3 separate regions of the Homo sapiens genome follow, and regions 2 and 3 are each linked to region 1. The links are contacts of gene promoters, found by promoter capture Hi-C in human tissues and cell types (Jung and others, 2019). All regions are on one chromosome and are shown on one strand. The core of a region is centred on a gene start or on the middle of the fragment in contact, and the rest is flanking DNA. Distances in the headings are between cores, read along the strand shown. Region 1 holds the start of OIT3 (oncoprotein induced transcript 3). Region 2 overlaps P4HA1 (prolyl 4-hydroxylase subunit alpha 1). Region 3 overlaps P4HA1 (prolyl 4-hydroxylase subunit alpha 1).

Region 1 (4,671 bases), core at 683-3,182:
CTCCAGGTCCTATCCGGCAGACAGCCGCCCCTGAATCACAGCCCCTTTTCGACCCTGTGCCTGAGCTTGGTCGGGAAGTGCCCCTCCTTTCCTGCTCCATCCTCTTCCATCCTCCTCCCTCATCACCCCACTTTGCTTCCCCCTTTCTCATCCCTTCTTTTCCTCTTCTCTCACTTCCCCTGTCCTCTCAGGGCAAACACCAGCTCTAGTTCCCAAAGTTCCCCCTTTATCATGCTTCTGGCATTGAGCCAAATATCATCCTTGAGGAGCTGGGGGTTGGAGGAAAAGATCTGGGAAGGGCGATGGTATATGGAAAGAATGGGGAATATAGGAGGTACTAGAGGGAGAATAGGTAAGGAGAAGGGTGGGAAGAAAGGGGAGTGGAGATTTTCGGGAGGACAACTTTCTGAGCGACCCTTGGGTTAGTTATTGGCAGCAGATAGGGGGTGATTAATGACAGGTAGCTCAAGCATATTTTTTGGAATAGTTTTGGATTTACAGCATAATTGAGATGATAGGACAAAGAGATCCCACATACCCCACACCCAGTTTCCCTTGTTATGACACGTTACCTTTAGCCATACATTTACCACACATTGGCATGGTACCTTTGTCACATTAATGACCCACTATTGATACCTGATTATTAACTCAAGTCCACACTTATTCAGATTCCCTTAGTTTCCACCCATATCTTTCTGTTCCAGGATCCCACATTACCTTTAGGTGTCAGGTCTCCTTAGGGTCTCAAATCACCATTTTTATTTTTATTTTTATTTTTTTGAGATGGAGTCTCCCTCTGTTGCCCAGGCTGGAGTGCAGTGGTTCGATCTCGGCTCACTGCAACCTCCACATCCCGAGTTCAAGTGATTCTCCCGCCTCAGCCTCCCAAGTAGCTGGAATTACAGGCATGCAACACCATGACCATCTAATTTTTTTGTGTGTATGTATTTTTAGTAGAGACGGAGTTTCACCATGTTGGCCAGGCTGGTCTTGAACTCCTGACCTCAGGTGATCCACCCGCCTTGGCCTCTCAAATGCTGGCATTACAAGTGTGAGCCACCGTGCCTGGCCACAAGCCTATTTTTAATGTGTATCCTTTCAGGTACTAGAGCAACCATGAAGAAATAAGCCAGGGTCAATTAGATACTGAGCTACTCAAAAGTGTCAAGAAGGATGGTTCTCTCCATCTCACCCCCACCCTCTGTTCCAGTTAGTACTCACATTCTACTAGAAAAAGATGCAAGAGAGAAATCTGTTAGTAACTGGAATTGAAACTTTTCTTTGCCTGACTGGCCAGTTTTGCACCAAGCCTGAGGAGGGAGACAATTTAAGATTCACTCGATCTGTGCAAAAAGTCTTATTTTCTGACATAAAGACTAATGAGTTTGGTTTATCCAGATCTGTGCCCCCCATGGCAACAGAGCTTTCAGTCCCTTGCCTTCATTAAAGAAAAATTCTATGCTCAACTTTAATTTTTTTTTTTTTGGCTCTTCAAGTTGGAACTATAAAGTGCCTAGAACACAAAGAAGATAGAATTATTTTTACACATACTCCAGGAACTCTTTAGCTAGTGAAAGCTGTGGGATATGGCAGATCCATGGAAATTTTGGAGTCCAGGCAAGAGGCTAAATGGAACATGTAACAGAAATTCTCGGGAAATCTATTTTCAAGGATTATTAGGGACTTTTCTTACAAGATTCTAGAGCTAGCATTTAAGGTACTGGAATCTAGTTCTTAATCATCTGTACATTATAGCAAATTGCCACAACAAAAAGTGCATTGTGCCAAGTTCTTGACATGAGACTCACCCACGGGTGACACGGAGGTGCCTGTGATGAAGAGGCAGGTGAGAAGCAGGAATGGAGGCATCCTTCTGGACCAACTGCCAGAAACACTGGAAAATCCTCTTAATACTGGTGTTCCTTTGTCCCCTTCTCTTTCAAGCACTTTTTTTTTTAAGGCCTCTAGGCTCTCACGAGAAAGACTTTATCAGCACTGGTAGGGGCTTTATCAGAGGAAGAGGATGAGGATGAGTGGGATAAGGTGTCCACAGCTCTGGCCTTGGCCCCAGAGAGAAGCACTGCTTTACACTGTCAACAGGGTTCCTTTATTAATAGTTTTCTTTAGGAAAAAAAAAAAAAAACACAACTCACAATCCCTCATCCTCCTATTGTTTTCTCTCAAGAATTCCCTGCAATGAAACCCCAGTATCTTATCCAGAAGGGAATTCTAAATGAGGGACATCCCTTCACGTCAAATTCTTGCTTTGTGACTTCTAGGAATTGATTTCACAATGTTGCAGCCATAGCACTGCACACTAAACGAGAATGGATGAAGCCAAATCACTGCAACTGTCTTGGTCAGATGGTTGAGGAGCTTATAATAGCACACAAAACAAAGTAGTAAGGACAGGTATGAGACAAGGACAGTATTCTCTTGAAATAAGCTCCTGAGTTTGTTTTATTACGGTCTTTGGCCTCAAAACTTCTGAAAGAAACAAGGTTTAAATTGTGTTTTTACTAATTCAAGCAGCAATACCTCATATTTTTATTGTCTTTACTCCCAAAATTAAAAAATGGTTTAATGTTATTTATTTCACTAATTCTCACATTAAGATGGGGTAGGAGCTTAAAATTAGAAACTACTCATTAAATTAACACTCTGGAAAATTAAATGTCAAAATTTCCTGAAGTTTCACTTTTAGACAAAGGAGAGAAAATGTGCTTCTTAGCACAATTTTTTTTTTCAGACGGAGTCTTACTCTGTCGCTCAGGCTGGAGTGCAGTGGTGTGATCTCGGCTCATTGCAAGCTTCGCCTCCCGGGTTCACGCCATTCTCCTGCCTCAGCCTCCCAAGTAACTGGGACTATAGGCGCCCACCACCACGCCCAGCTAATTTTTTTGTATTTTTAGTAGAGACAGGGTTTCACTGTGTTAGCCAGGATGGTCTCGATCTCCTGACCTCGTGATCCGCCTGCCTTGGCCTCCCAAAGTGCTGGGATTACAGGTGTGAGCCACCGAGCTCGGGCAATCACTGGTTTTTGACAATGACAAAAGTACACATGGTCTCCAGAAGCACAGGGTTTATGGTCAAGCAAGGGGTTTCCATTGATCTAAAATTGTAGTTAGCTACTTCATTACTAACATCAGTGGGACACAGGCAATTTGACCATTAACTTATTAAGTTGTGGTTTGATGGCAGCAATGGATGACTCTGCTGTCTCATTGCAGGATAGTGTTGCTAAGTATCAGTGCTTTAAACAGAAAAAACAATCCCCCACAACTTCCTGCGCCTAGGAAGCCATCTGAGGGCTTCATATGTGTTGCAGAGAAACAGAGGACGTGTGCATGAGATAAACCCAGACTTGTTGCCAGGATTGATTGCTGGAGTCAAGGACTTTCACCAGATAGCCTTTGGTTCTGTAAACAAGAATTCCCAGGATGGTAAGATGTTTTTTCCCCCTTATTTCTATTTTTTCCTTTTTAGTTGACCTGCTCTTTCATTTTTTACTTTTTATGATGAAAAATTTCAAATATATATACAAAAGTATAAAGAACAATAATGAACACTCAGCTATAATAATTACTAACATTCTATCAATTTCATTTACATACCAGTATGCATTTCTAACACATTGTATTTTTTTACATAATCATGATGCTTTTATTACAACTATGAAAATTAGTAATAATTCCTTAACTCATATCCAATCCATATTTAAATTGCTCCAATAGTTCCAAATATTCCTTTTATTGCTGGGTTGAGTCAGGATCCAAACAAGATTTATATATTGCATTTTGATTGTCACTTAAATTTATTTTTATCAGCTGGGTGCAGTGGCTCACACCTGTAATCCCAGCACTTTGGGAGGCCAAGGTGGGTGGATCACCTGAGGTCAGGAGTTCGAGACCAGCCCGGCCAACATGGTGAAACCCCATCTCTATTAAAAATGCAAAACTAGCCAAGTGTGATGGTGCACGTCTGTAATCCCAGCTTCTTGGGAGGCTGAGACAGGAAAATCACTTGAACCTGGGAGGCAGAGGTTACAGTGAGCCGAGATTGTGCCACTGGACTCCAGCCTAGGCAACAGAGGGAGACTCCGTTTCAAAAAAAAAATATATATATATATATATATTTTTATCCATAATGGTCTTCCCCCCTTCCTTCCATTTGTTGAAGAAACCCCATCATTTGTCCTACAGAATGTTCCACGTTTTGGGTTTGGTGAATTGCTTCTTTGTGGTGTCTTGTAGTCTTTCCTCCCCCATATTTAATGTTAATGCTTGTTCATATGTTACAATTTTTCTAAATTATGTGCTATTAGAATTTAAAAACAAAAATACTCTGGTGACATTGAGAGAATTTAATGTACAGAAGGCAATGCTAGAAATAGACCAGTTACGAAGAGGATAAATCAGTCTAGGATATATCTGAGCTAGAGTAACAATTTGAGAGCTACCAACATATAAATGGTAATTTAAATAGGGGAGAGGGGTGAGATCACACCCATGGAAAATGGGGTCCAAGATGGAACCTTGGGGAAGCCTAATATCACAGATGTGGGCAGAGGAATAGGACGCTGTAAAGGAGACCAAGAAGTAGTCACAGATTTACGAACGGAAACCCAAGGGTGGAGTCACAGGAGCTGAAGTTCAAGGAGGAGGGGTT
Region 2 (4,671 bases), core at 604-3,103, 200 kb before region 1:
TGGTCTCGATCTCTTTACCTCGTGATCTGCCCGCCTTGGCCTCCCAAAGTGCTGGGATTACAGGTGTGATCACGCCACCGTGCCCGGCCAAAGCTTTGTGTTTCTATTCAAGAAAATTTATTTGTATAAATTGAAGCTGTCCTGTCATTAGGACAGCTTCAGTTTCTCTAGTTGAATAAGTATTGTACCTAAAGAAAAGCTTTGGCAATTCAAAAGGACTCTCATTTAGGTTACTCCAGCAGTTTTTAAACTCGGTGTGGTGAAAAACATTCTTTTTCCTGGTCTTCCTTTGGATGATCAGTATGACTGTTAGTATATTTGATTTGACATTTGCTAAAAATACATTATAGAGATTCAGACTTCTTACCTAGTTGTCATCAGTGAATGAGTTCTATATTGGGCCTTTCTCTTCCTCATGTTTAGTGTTTCATAAAAATGTGTCCATATTACTCATTTCTTTCTTAAATAGTAATATTATGTGGAATTAGTACACTCAGCCTTACTCTCTCTTTTTTTTTTTTTTTTAAGAGATAGGATCTTGCTCTGTTGCCCAGGATGGAGTGCAGTGGTGTGACCATAGCTCACTGCAGCCTTGAACTCCTGGGCTCAAGCAATCCTTCTGCCTCAGCCTCCGGGTGTAGCTCGGGGTACAGATGCATGCCACCATGTCTAGCTAATTTTTTAATTTTTTGTAGAGATGGGATCTTGCTCTGTTGACCAGGCTAGTCTCGAACTCCTGGCCTCAAGTGATTCTCCCATCTGCCCCACAAAGTGTTGGGATTATAGGTGTGAGCCACCATGCCTGGTCATCCTTACTCTCTTGTTGGACACTTGAGCTGTTTCTCCATTATAAGTAGTGCAAAGAGAGGACTGTAATTTAGTGGTTTATTTTATCAACCTGTATAATTACAGTAAACTTTAACCAATTTTTTAATTTTTAAATTTATATTTAAATTTTTTTTTTTTTAGAGACAGGGCCTTACTATGTTGCCCAGGCATGGTGGCTCACACCTGTAATCACAGCACTTTGGAAGGCCGAGGCAGGAGGATCACTTGAGGCCAGGAGTTCAAGACCAGCCTGGTCAGCATAGTGAGACCCCATCTCTCTACAAAAAAAATTTTTTTTTAATTAAGGGGGCATGAGGTTGCATGCATCTGTAGTCTAACTACTTGGGAGGCTGAGGTGGGAGGGTCGCTTGAGCCCAAGAGTTGGAAGCTGCAGTGAGCTATGATAGCACCATTGCACTCTAGCCTGGGTGAGAGTGCAAGACCCTGTCTCTAAAAAAAAAAAAAAAAAAAAGAAAAGAAAAAAAAATTATTTACAATATGGCCAGTAGACTGTAGGAAAATCAAGAATGATGAGAAATGTTTCATAGGAGAAGTAGGACATAAAAATTACATGATATAGCACCATGTGGCTAACATTTTACTAGATATTAAATCTGTAGCACTGAATGGAAATGCATATCTAGATTCACATCCTCTACAACCATGAATTCATTTTTCCCTGTTCTAGTATACATGGTCTTATTTTGTCTCTCTTTACCTCAACTTGAGAAATTTGGATCTGGCATTAGAGTAAACAGATAATTGAAGACTAGAAAGAGGTAGACTGGGTGGAAATAAAAGTGGAATTTTGACAGAATAGCCTTGGGAGGGATGAAGCTGAGTATACCTGGGCCTCAGAGCAATAATCCATTTTTTAGGAGGAAAGGGACTGCTAAAGCCAGCTTTTGAGTATTCTACTCTGACCTGAGTGGCCTTGGTCTGAATAGCTCATGTTCAGAGATAAGAGTATATTTAACTTTTTTGTACTAAGAATAGTATTTGAGTAATGTTATAGGTACATATGAGAATTTGGCCTTCATCTCTGCCGAGTCAGTTAAACACAAGTTTCTCTAGATATTTCCATTACAAGAATCAAAGCTCTTTGATTTTTGGAACTTCAGTAAAACCCAAGAATGAATAGCCGAGAACTATCATACAAGTCATAAAATTAAAAGGCATTGAACAGTGTATGAAGCATCAGATATCCTGTTACATGTGTCTGCAACAATAAATTAAATATTGATTAACTGATTTTAAGTAGGCTCAAGACTTCTCTTACAGTTCTAATCTTATATTAACTAGATTTGCATATCTAATTTCTCCAAAAATATGATCAAGAAATGTTTATTTTAGTCTAGGCGTGGTGGCTCACATCTGTAATCCCAGTGCTTTGGGAGGCTGAGGTGGGAAGATCTCTGGAGCCCAGGAGTTCAAGGCTGCTGTGAGCTCTGATTGTTCCACTCCACTCCAGCCTGGGTGACAGAGCCAGACCCTGTCTCAAAAAAACAAAAAAAGTTGGTATTTCTAAAACCTACTGGTTGAATTTAGGACCTCAAAATGTTACTTGTGTGTGTGACCTTTGTTCTTGCCCTATGGTTCTGACAACCTTCCTCCTTTTTATTTATTTATTTATTTATTTATTTATTTTTTTGGTAAACTCAGGCAACATATTCATAGTCAAAGGTTACATGAAGACATTCTCAAATTTACATGATTTCAAAATTTAGTTACTTCTTTTTTTTTTTTTTTTTTTTTTTTGAGATGGACTCTCACTCTGTCACCCAGGCTGGAGTGCAGTGGCGCAATCTCGGTTCACGGCAACCTCTGCCTCCTGGGTTCAAGCAATTCTCTGCCTCAGCCTCCCGAGTAGCTGGGATTACAGGCACCCGCCACCACGCCCGACTACTTTTTTGTATTTTTAGTAGAGACAGGGTGTCACCATCTTGGCCGGGCGGGTCTCGAACTCCTGACCGGGGGTGATCCATCAGCCTCGGCCTCCCAAAGTGCTGGGATTACAGGCATGAGCCACCGCACCTGGCCTGCAGTTACTTCCTTTAACCTCAAAGATATTTTGAAAATAGACCTCAATTTACTATGCCTGAATTTAAAAAACCTTAATATTGTATTTGAAAATAGTGAATAGTGACCATTGCCACCAAGTAGAGTGATAGTAATAAGTAAAACACTAATCTTTGATATAAGGGTGATTACTAATAAATTGAATAAACTGATATATTTTAACGACTTTATTGAGCAAAATTGACAGGACAAATTGCATATATTTACAGTGTACAATTTGATAAATTTGACAAAAATATCTACTTAAAAAAATATCAGTACAATCAAGATAAGGAACATATCCATCACCTTCAAGAGTATCCTCAAGGTCAGGCACAGTGGCTTAGGCCTGTAATCCCAACCCTTTGGGTGGCCGAGGCAGGAGGACTGCTTGAGCCCAGGAGTTCCAGACCAGCCTGGGCGACATAGAAAGACTTCATCTCTACACAAAATAAAATAACATTAGCTGGGTGTGATGGTGCCTGCCTGTAATCCTAGCTACTTGGGAGGCCGAGGCAGGAGGATTGCTTGAGCTGGGGAGGTTGAGTCTTCAATGAACTGTGATTGTGCTACTGTACTCCAGCCTGGTGACCGAAATGAGTCTCTGTCTCAAAAAAGAGTATACTTGGCCAGGCGCAGTGGCTCACACCTGTAATCCCAACACTCTGGGGGGCCGAGGCAGGAGGACTGCTTGAGCCCAGAAGTTCAAGACCAGCCTGCGCAACATGGTAAAACCCTGTCTCTACAAAAAAATTAAAAAGCCAGGTGTGGTGTTGTGTGCCTGCAGTCCCCGCTACTTGGGAGACTGAGGTGGGAGACTCACCCAAAGCCTGGAGATTAAGGCTGCGGTGAGCCAAGATCACGCTACTGCACTCTAGCCGGGGCATCGGCAGTATCCTTATGACTTTTTGTAATCCCTTCTTTTGCTCCTTACTACCCTCTCTGTATCCCTAGGAAACCATTGTTTCCTTTCTGTTGCTTAAGATTAGTTTTTATTTTCTAGAATTTTATAAAAATGGAATTGTATATACGCTTTTTTTTTTTTTTTTTAGCACGGGGAATCTCCTTACACTCAGCATAATTTGAGATTCATCCATGTTGTTATGTGTTCATAGTTTTTTATTGTTGAATAGTATTTTATTTTATGAATATACCATGATTTTTTTTAACCCATTTACCCTTTGATGGACATTTGGATTGTTTTCACTTTTTGACTATTATGAATAAAGCTGCTATGAGCATTCATGTACAAGTTGTTGGAGAGAGATATGCTTTCTTTTCTCTTATATTAATGCCTAGGAGTGCAATAGCTAGATGTGATAGGGAAATATTTTTTCCCAGTTGTTGGCTTGTCTTCATTCTTTAAACAGTGTGCTTCAAAGAGCAGTTTCTATTCACAGACAACATGTCTGTGACTCTTCAAAAAAGCTCTAGTGAATAGGTTAATTCAGCAGAGTTGTAGCTTAGAAGGTCAATATACAACAGTAAATTGTATTTCTATATACTAATAATGAACAATTAGAAACTAAAGTGAAAAATTCCCATCTCATTAGCACTAAAAACCATGAAATACTTAAGTATTAACTTTTCAAATGGTGTGTAATATTTGTATGTTGAAAATTATGAAACACTGATTATATCATGTTCATGGATTAGAAGACTCAGTATTAAGATACCTACTCTTCTCAAACTGATTTATAGATTCAGCACATTTCTAGTCCAAATCTCAGAGGATTTCTTATAGAAATTAATGAGCCGATTCTAAAATTAATATGGAAAACCAAA
Region 3 (4,671 bases), core at 1,208-3,707, 130 kb before region 1:
TGTATATTTTGGCTTTTGTAGCCATTGCTTTTGGTGTTTTAGTCATGAAGTCCTTGCCCATGCCTATGTCCTGAATGGTATTGCCTAGGTTTTCTTCTAGGGTTTTTATGGTTTTAGGTCTAACATTTAAGTCTTTAATCCATCTTGAATTAATTGTTATATAAAGTGTAAGGAAGGGATCCAGTTTCAGCTTTCTACATATGGCTAGCCAGTTTTCCCAGCACCGTTTATTAAATAGGGAATCCTTTCCCCATTTCTTGTTTTTGTCAGGTTCGTCAAAGATCAGATGGTTGTAGATGTGTGTTGTTATTTCTGAGGCCTCTGTTCTGTTCTATTGGTCTATGTCTCTGTTTTGGTACCAGTACTATGCTATTTTGGTTACTGTAGCCTTGTAGTATAGTTTGAAGTCAGGTAGCATGATGCCTCCAGCTTTGTTCTTTTGGCTTAGGATTGTCTTGGCTATGTGGGCTCTTTTTTGGTTCCATATGAACTTTAAAGTAGATTTTTCCAATTCTGTGAAGAAAGTCATTGGTAGCTTGATGGGGATGGCATTGAATCTGTAAATTACCTTGGGCAGTATGGCCATTTTCACGATATTGATTCTTCCTATCCATGAGCATGGAATGTTCTTCCATTTGTGTCCTCTTTTATTTCGTTGAGCAGTGGTTTGTAGTTCTCCTTGAAGAGGTTCTTCACATCCCTTGTAAGTTGGATTCCTAGGTATTTTATTCTCTTTGTAGCAATTGTGAATGGGAGTTCACTCATGATTTGGCTCTCTGTCTGTTATTGGTATATAGGAATGCTTGTGATTTTTGCACATTGATTTTGTATCCTGAGACTTTGCTGAAGTTGCTTATCAGCTTAAGGAGATTTTGGGCTGAGACAATGGGGTTTTCTAAATATACAATCATGTCATCTGCAAACAGGGACAATTTGACTTCCTGTTTTCCTAATTGAATACCCTTTATTTCTTTCTCTTGCCTTATTGCCCTGGCCAGAACTTCCAACACTATGTTGAATAGGAGTGGTGAGGGAGGGTATCCTTGTCTTGTGCCGGATTTCAAACAGTGCTTCCAGTTTTTGCCCATTCAGTATGATATTGGCTGTGGGTTTGTCATAAATAGCTCTTATTATTTTGAGATATGTTCCATCAATACCTAGTTTACCGCATTTTCAGCATGAAGGGCTGTTGAATTTTGTCAAAGGCCTTTTCTGCATCTATTGAGATAATCATGTGGTTTTTGTCATTGGTTCTGTTTATGTGATGGATTACGTTTATTGATTTGTGTATGTTGAACCAGCCTTGCATCCCAGGGATGAAGCTGACTTGATTGTGGTGGATAAGCTTTTTGATGTGCTGCTGGATTCGGTTGGATTTTTGCGTCGATGTTCATCAGCGATATTGGCCTAAAATTCTCTTTTTTTGTTGTGTCTCTGCCAGGCTTTGGTATCAGGATGATACTGGCCTCATAAAATGAGTTAGGGAGGATTCCCTCTTTTTCTGTTGATTGGAATAGTTTCAGAAGGAATGGTACCAGCTCCTCTTAGTACCTCTGATAGAATTCGGCTGTGAATCCATCTGGTCCTGAACTTTTTTTAGTTGGTAGGCTGTTATTGCCTCAATTTCAGAGTCTGTTATTTTTCTATTCAGAGATTCAACTTCTTCCTGGTTTGGTCTTGGGTGTATGTGTCCAGGAATTTATCCATTTCTTCTAGATTTTCTAGTTTATTTGCATAGAGGTGTTTATAGTATTCTCTGATGGTAGTTTGTATTTCTGTGGGATCTGTGGTGATATCCCCTTTATCATTTTTTACTGTGTCTATTTGATTATTCTCTCTTTTCTTCTTTATTAGTCTTGCTAGCTGTCTATCAATTTTGTTGATCTTTTCAAAAAACCAGCTCCTGGATTCATTGATTTTTTGAAGGGTTTTTTATGTCTGTATCTCTTTCAGTTCTGCTTTGATCTGAGTTATTTCTTGCCTTCTGCTAGCTTTTGAATTTGTTTGCTCTTGCTTCTCTTGTTCTTTTAATTGTGATGTTAGGGTGTCGATTTTAGGTCTTTCTTGCTTTCTCTTGTGGGCATTTAGTGCTATAAATTTTCCTCTACACTGCTTTAAATGTGTCCCAGAGATTCTGGTACGTTGTGTCTTTGTTCTCATTGGTTTCAAAGAACATGTTTATTTCTGCCTTCATTTCGTTATTTACCCAGTAGTCATTCAGGAGCAGGTTGTTCAGTTTCCATGTAGTTGTGTGGTTTTGAGTGAGTTTCTTAATCCTGAGTTCTAATTTGATTGCACTGTGGTCTGAGAGACAGTTTGTTGTGATTTCTGTTCTTTTACATTTGCTGAGGAGTGCTTTACTTCCAATTATGTGGTCAGTTTTAGAATAAGTGTGATGTGGTGCTGAGAAGAATGTATATTCTGTTGATTTGGGGTGGACAGAGTTCTGTAGATGTCTATTATAATGGTCTGCTTAGTGCAGAGCTGAGTTCCAGTCCTGGATATTCTTGTTAACCTTCTGTCTTGTTGATCTCATATTGACAGTGGAGTGTTAAAGTCTCTCATTATTATTGTGTGAGAGTCTAAGTCTCTTTTTAGGACTCTAAGGACTTGCCTTATGAATCTGGGTGCCCCTGTATTGGGTGCATATATATTTAGAATAGTTAGCACTTCTTGTTGAATTGATCCCTATACCATTACGTAATGGCCTTCTTTGTCTCTTTTGATCTGTGTTGGTTTAAAGTCTGTTTGATCAGAGACTAGGATTGCAGCCGCTGCTTTTTTTTTTTTTTTTCTTTCCATTTGCTTCGTAGATCTTCCTCCATCCCTTTATTTTGAGCCTATGTGTGTCTCTGCACATGAGATGTGTCTCCTGATGGGTCTTGACTCTTTATCCAATTTGCCAGTCTGTGCCTTTTCATTGGGACATTTAGCCCATTTACATTTAAGGCTAATATTGTTATATGTGAATTTGATCCTGTCATTATGATGTTCGCTGGTTATTTTGCTCGTTAATTGATGCGGTTTCTTCATAGCATCGATGGTCTTTATAATTTGGCATGTTTTTGCAGTGGCTGGTACCAGTTGTTCCTTTCCATGTTTAGTGCTTCCTTCAGGAGCTCTTGTAAGACAGGCCTGGTGGTGACAAAATCTCTCAGCATTTGCTTGTCTGCAAAGGATTTTATTTCTCCTTTATTTAGAAAGCTTAGTTTGGCTGGATATGAAATTCTGGGTTGAAAATTCTTTTTTTTAAGAATGTTGAATATTGGCCCCCACTCTCTTCTTGCTTGTAGGGTTTCTGCAGAGAGATCCACTGTTAGTCTGATGGGCCTCCCTTTGTGGGTAACCCGACCTTTCTCTCTGGCTGCCCTTAAGATTTTTTCCTTCATTTCAGCCTTGGTGAATCTGACAATTACGTGTCTTGTGGTTGCTCTTCTCGAGAAGTATCTTTGTGGTGTTCTCTGTATTTCTGAATTTGACTGTTGGCCTGCCTTGCTAGGTTGGGGAAATTCTCCTGGATAATTTCCTGAATAGTGTTTTTCAGCCTGTTTCCATTCTCCCCGTCACTTTCAGGTGTACACCAATCAAACATAGATTTGGTCTTTTTAGATAGTCCCATATTTCTTGGAGGCTTTATTTGTTTCTTTCTACTCATTTTTCTCTAAACTTGTCTTCTTGCTTTATTTCATTAATTCCATCTTCAATCACTGATACCCTTTGTTCCACTTGATCAAATCGGCTACCGAAGCTTGTGCATGCACCATGACGTTCTTATGCCATGGTTTTCAGCTCCATCAGGTCATTCAAGGTCTTCTCTACACTGTTTGTTCTAGTTAGCCATTCGTCTAACCTTTTTTCAAGGGTTTTAGCTTCCTTGCGATGGCTTAGAACATGCTTCTTTAGCTGGGAGGTTTGTTATTACCGACCTTCTGAAGCCTACTTCTGTCAGCTCATCAAAGTCATTCTCTGTCCAGCTTTGTTCTGTTGCTTGTGAGGAGCTGCAGTCCTTTGGAGGAGAGGAGGTGCTCTGATCTTTAGAAGTTTCAGCTTTTCTGCTCTGGTTTCTCCCCATCTTTGTGGTTTTGTCTACCTTTGGCCTTCGATGTTGGTGACCTACAGATGGGGTTTTGGTGTAGATGACCTTTTTGTTGATGTTGATGCTATTCCTTTCTGTTAGTTTTCCTTCTAACAGTCAGGTCCCTCAGCTGCAGGTCTGTTGGAGTTTGCTGGAGGTCCATTCCAGACGCTGTTTGCCTGGGTATCACCAGCAGAGGATGCAGAACAGCAAATATTGCTGCCTGATCCTTCCTCTGGAAGCTTCATCCCAGAGGGGCACCCGCCTGTATGAGGTGTCTGTCGGCCCCTACTGGGAGGTTTCCCCCAGTTAGGCTACACGGGGGTCAGGGACCCTCTTGAGGAGGCAGTCTTTGGTTCTCAGAGCTCAAATGCCATCCTGGGAGAACCACTGCTCTCTTCAGAGCTGTCAGACAGGGACGTTTAAGTCTGCAGAAGTTGTCTGCTGGCTTTTGTTCAGCTATGCCCTGCCCACAGAGGTGGAGTCTACAGAGGCAGTAGGCCTTGCTGAGCTGTGGTGGGCTCCGCCCAGTTTGAGCTTTCTGGCCATTTTGTTTACCTAATCAAGCCTCAGCAATGGTGGACACCCCTCCTCCA

What was found. Contacts are between HindIII fragments. The study calls those that stand out against the background at their distance.
Region 2: a contact is called between a fragment that was not itself captured here and the fragment with the promoter of OIT3 in region 1, in 1 of the 25 tissues and cell types used here (aorta).
Region 3: a contact is called between a fragment that was not itself captured here and the fragment with the promoter of OIT3 in region 1, in 3 of the 25 tissues and cell types used here (dorsolateral prefrontal cortex, mesendoderm cells and pancreas).

Annotation. Positions count from the first base shown.
Region 1 is chr10:72,891,000-72,895,670 of GRCh38, reverse strand. OIT3 (oncoprotein induced transcript 3) reads right to left here and starts at 1,932. Exons shown (of 9, transcript NM_152635.3): 1 at 1,812-1,932. The coding sequence starts at 1,872. The HindIII fragment of the contact is 12,875 bases long and covers 1-4,671 here.
Region 2 is chr10:73,088,976-73,093,646 of GRCh38, reverse strand. All of the region lies in intron 1 of P4HA1 (prolyl 4-hydroxylase subunit alpha 1), which reads left to right. Among named protein-coding and RNA genes, the nearest start is that of P4HA1, 5.6 kb to the left of the region's middle. The HindIII fragment of the contact is 7,132 bases long and covers 1-4,671 here.
Region 3 is chr10:73,021,932-73,026,602 of GRCh38, reverse strand. All of the region lies in intron 10 of P4HA1 (prolyl 4-hydroxylase subunit alpha 1), which reads left to right. Among named protein-coding and RNA genes, the nearest start is that of PLA2G12B, 69 kb to the right of the region's middle. The HindIII fragment of the contact is 5,177 bases long and covers 1-4,671 here.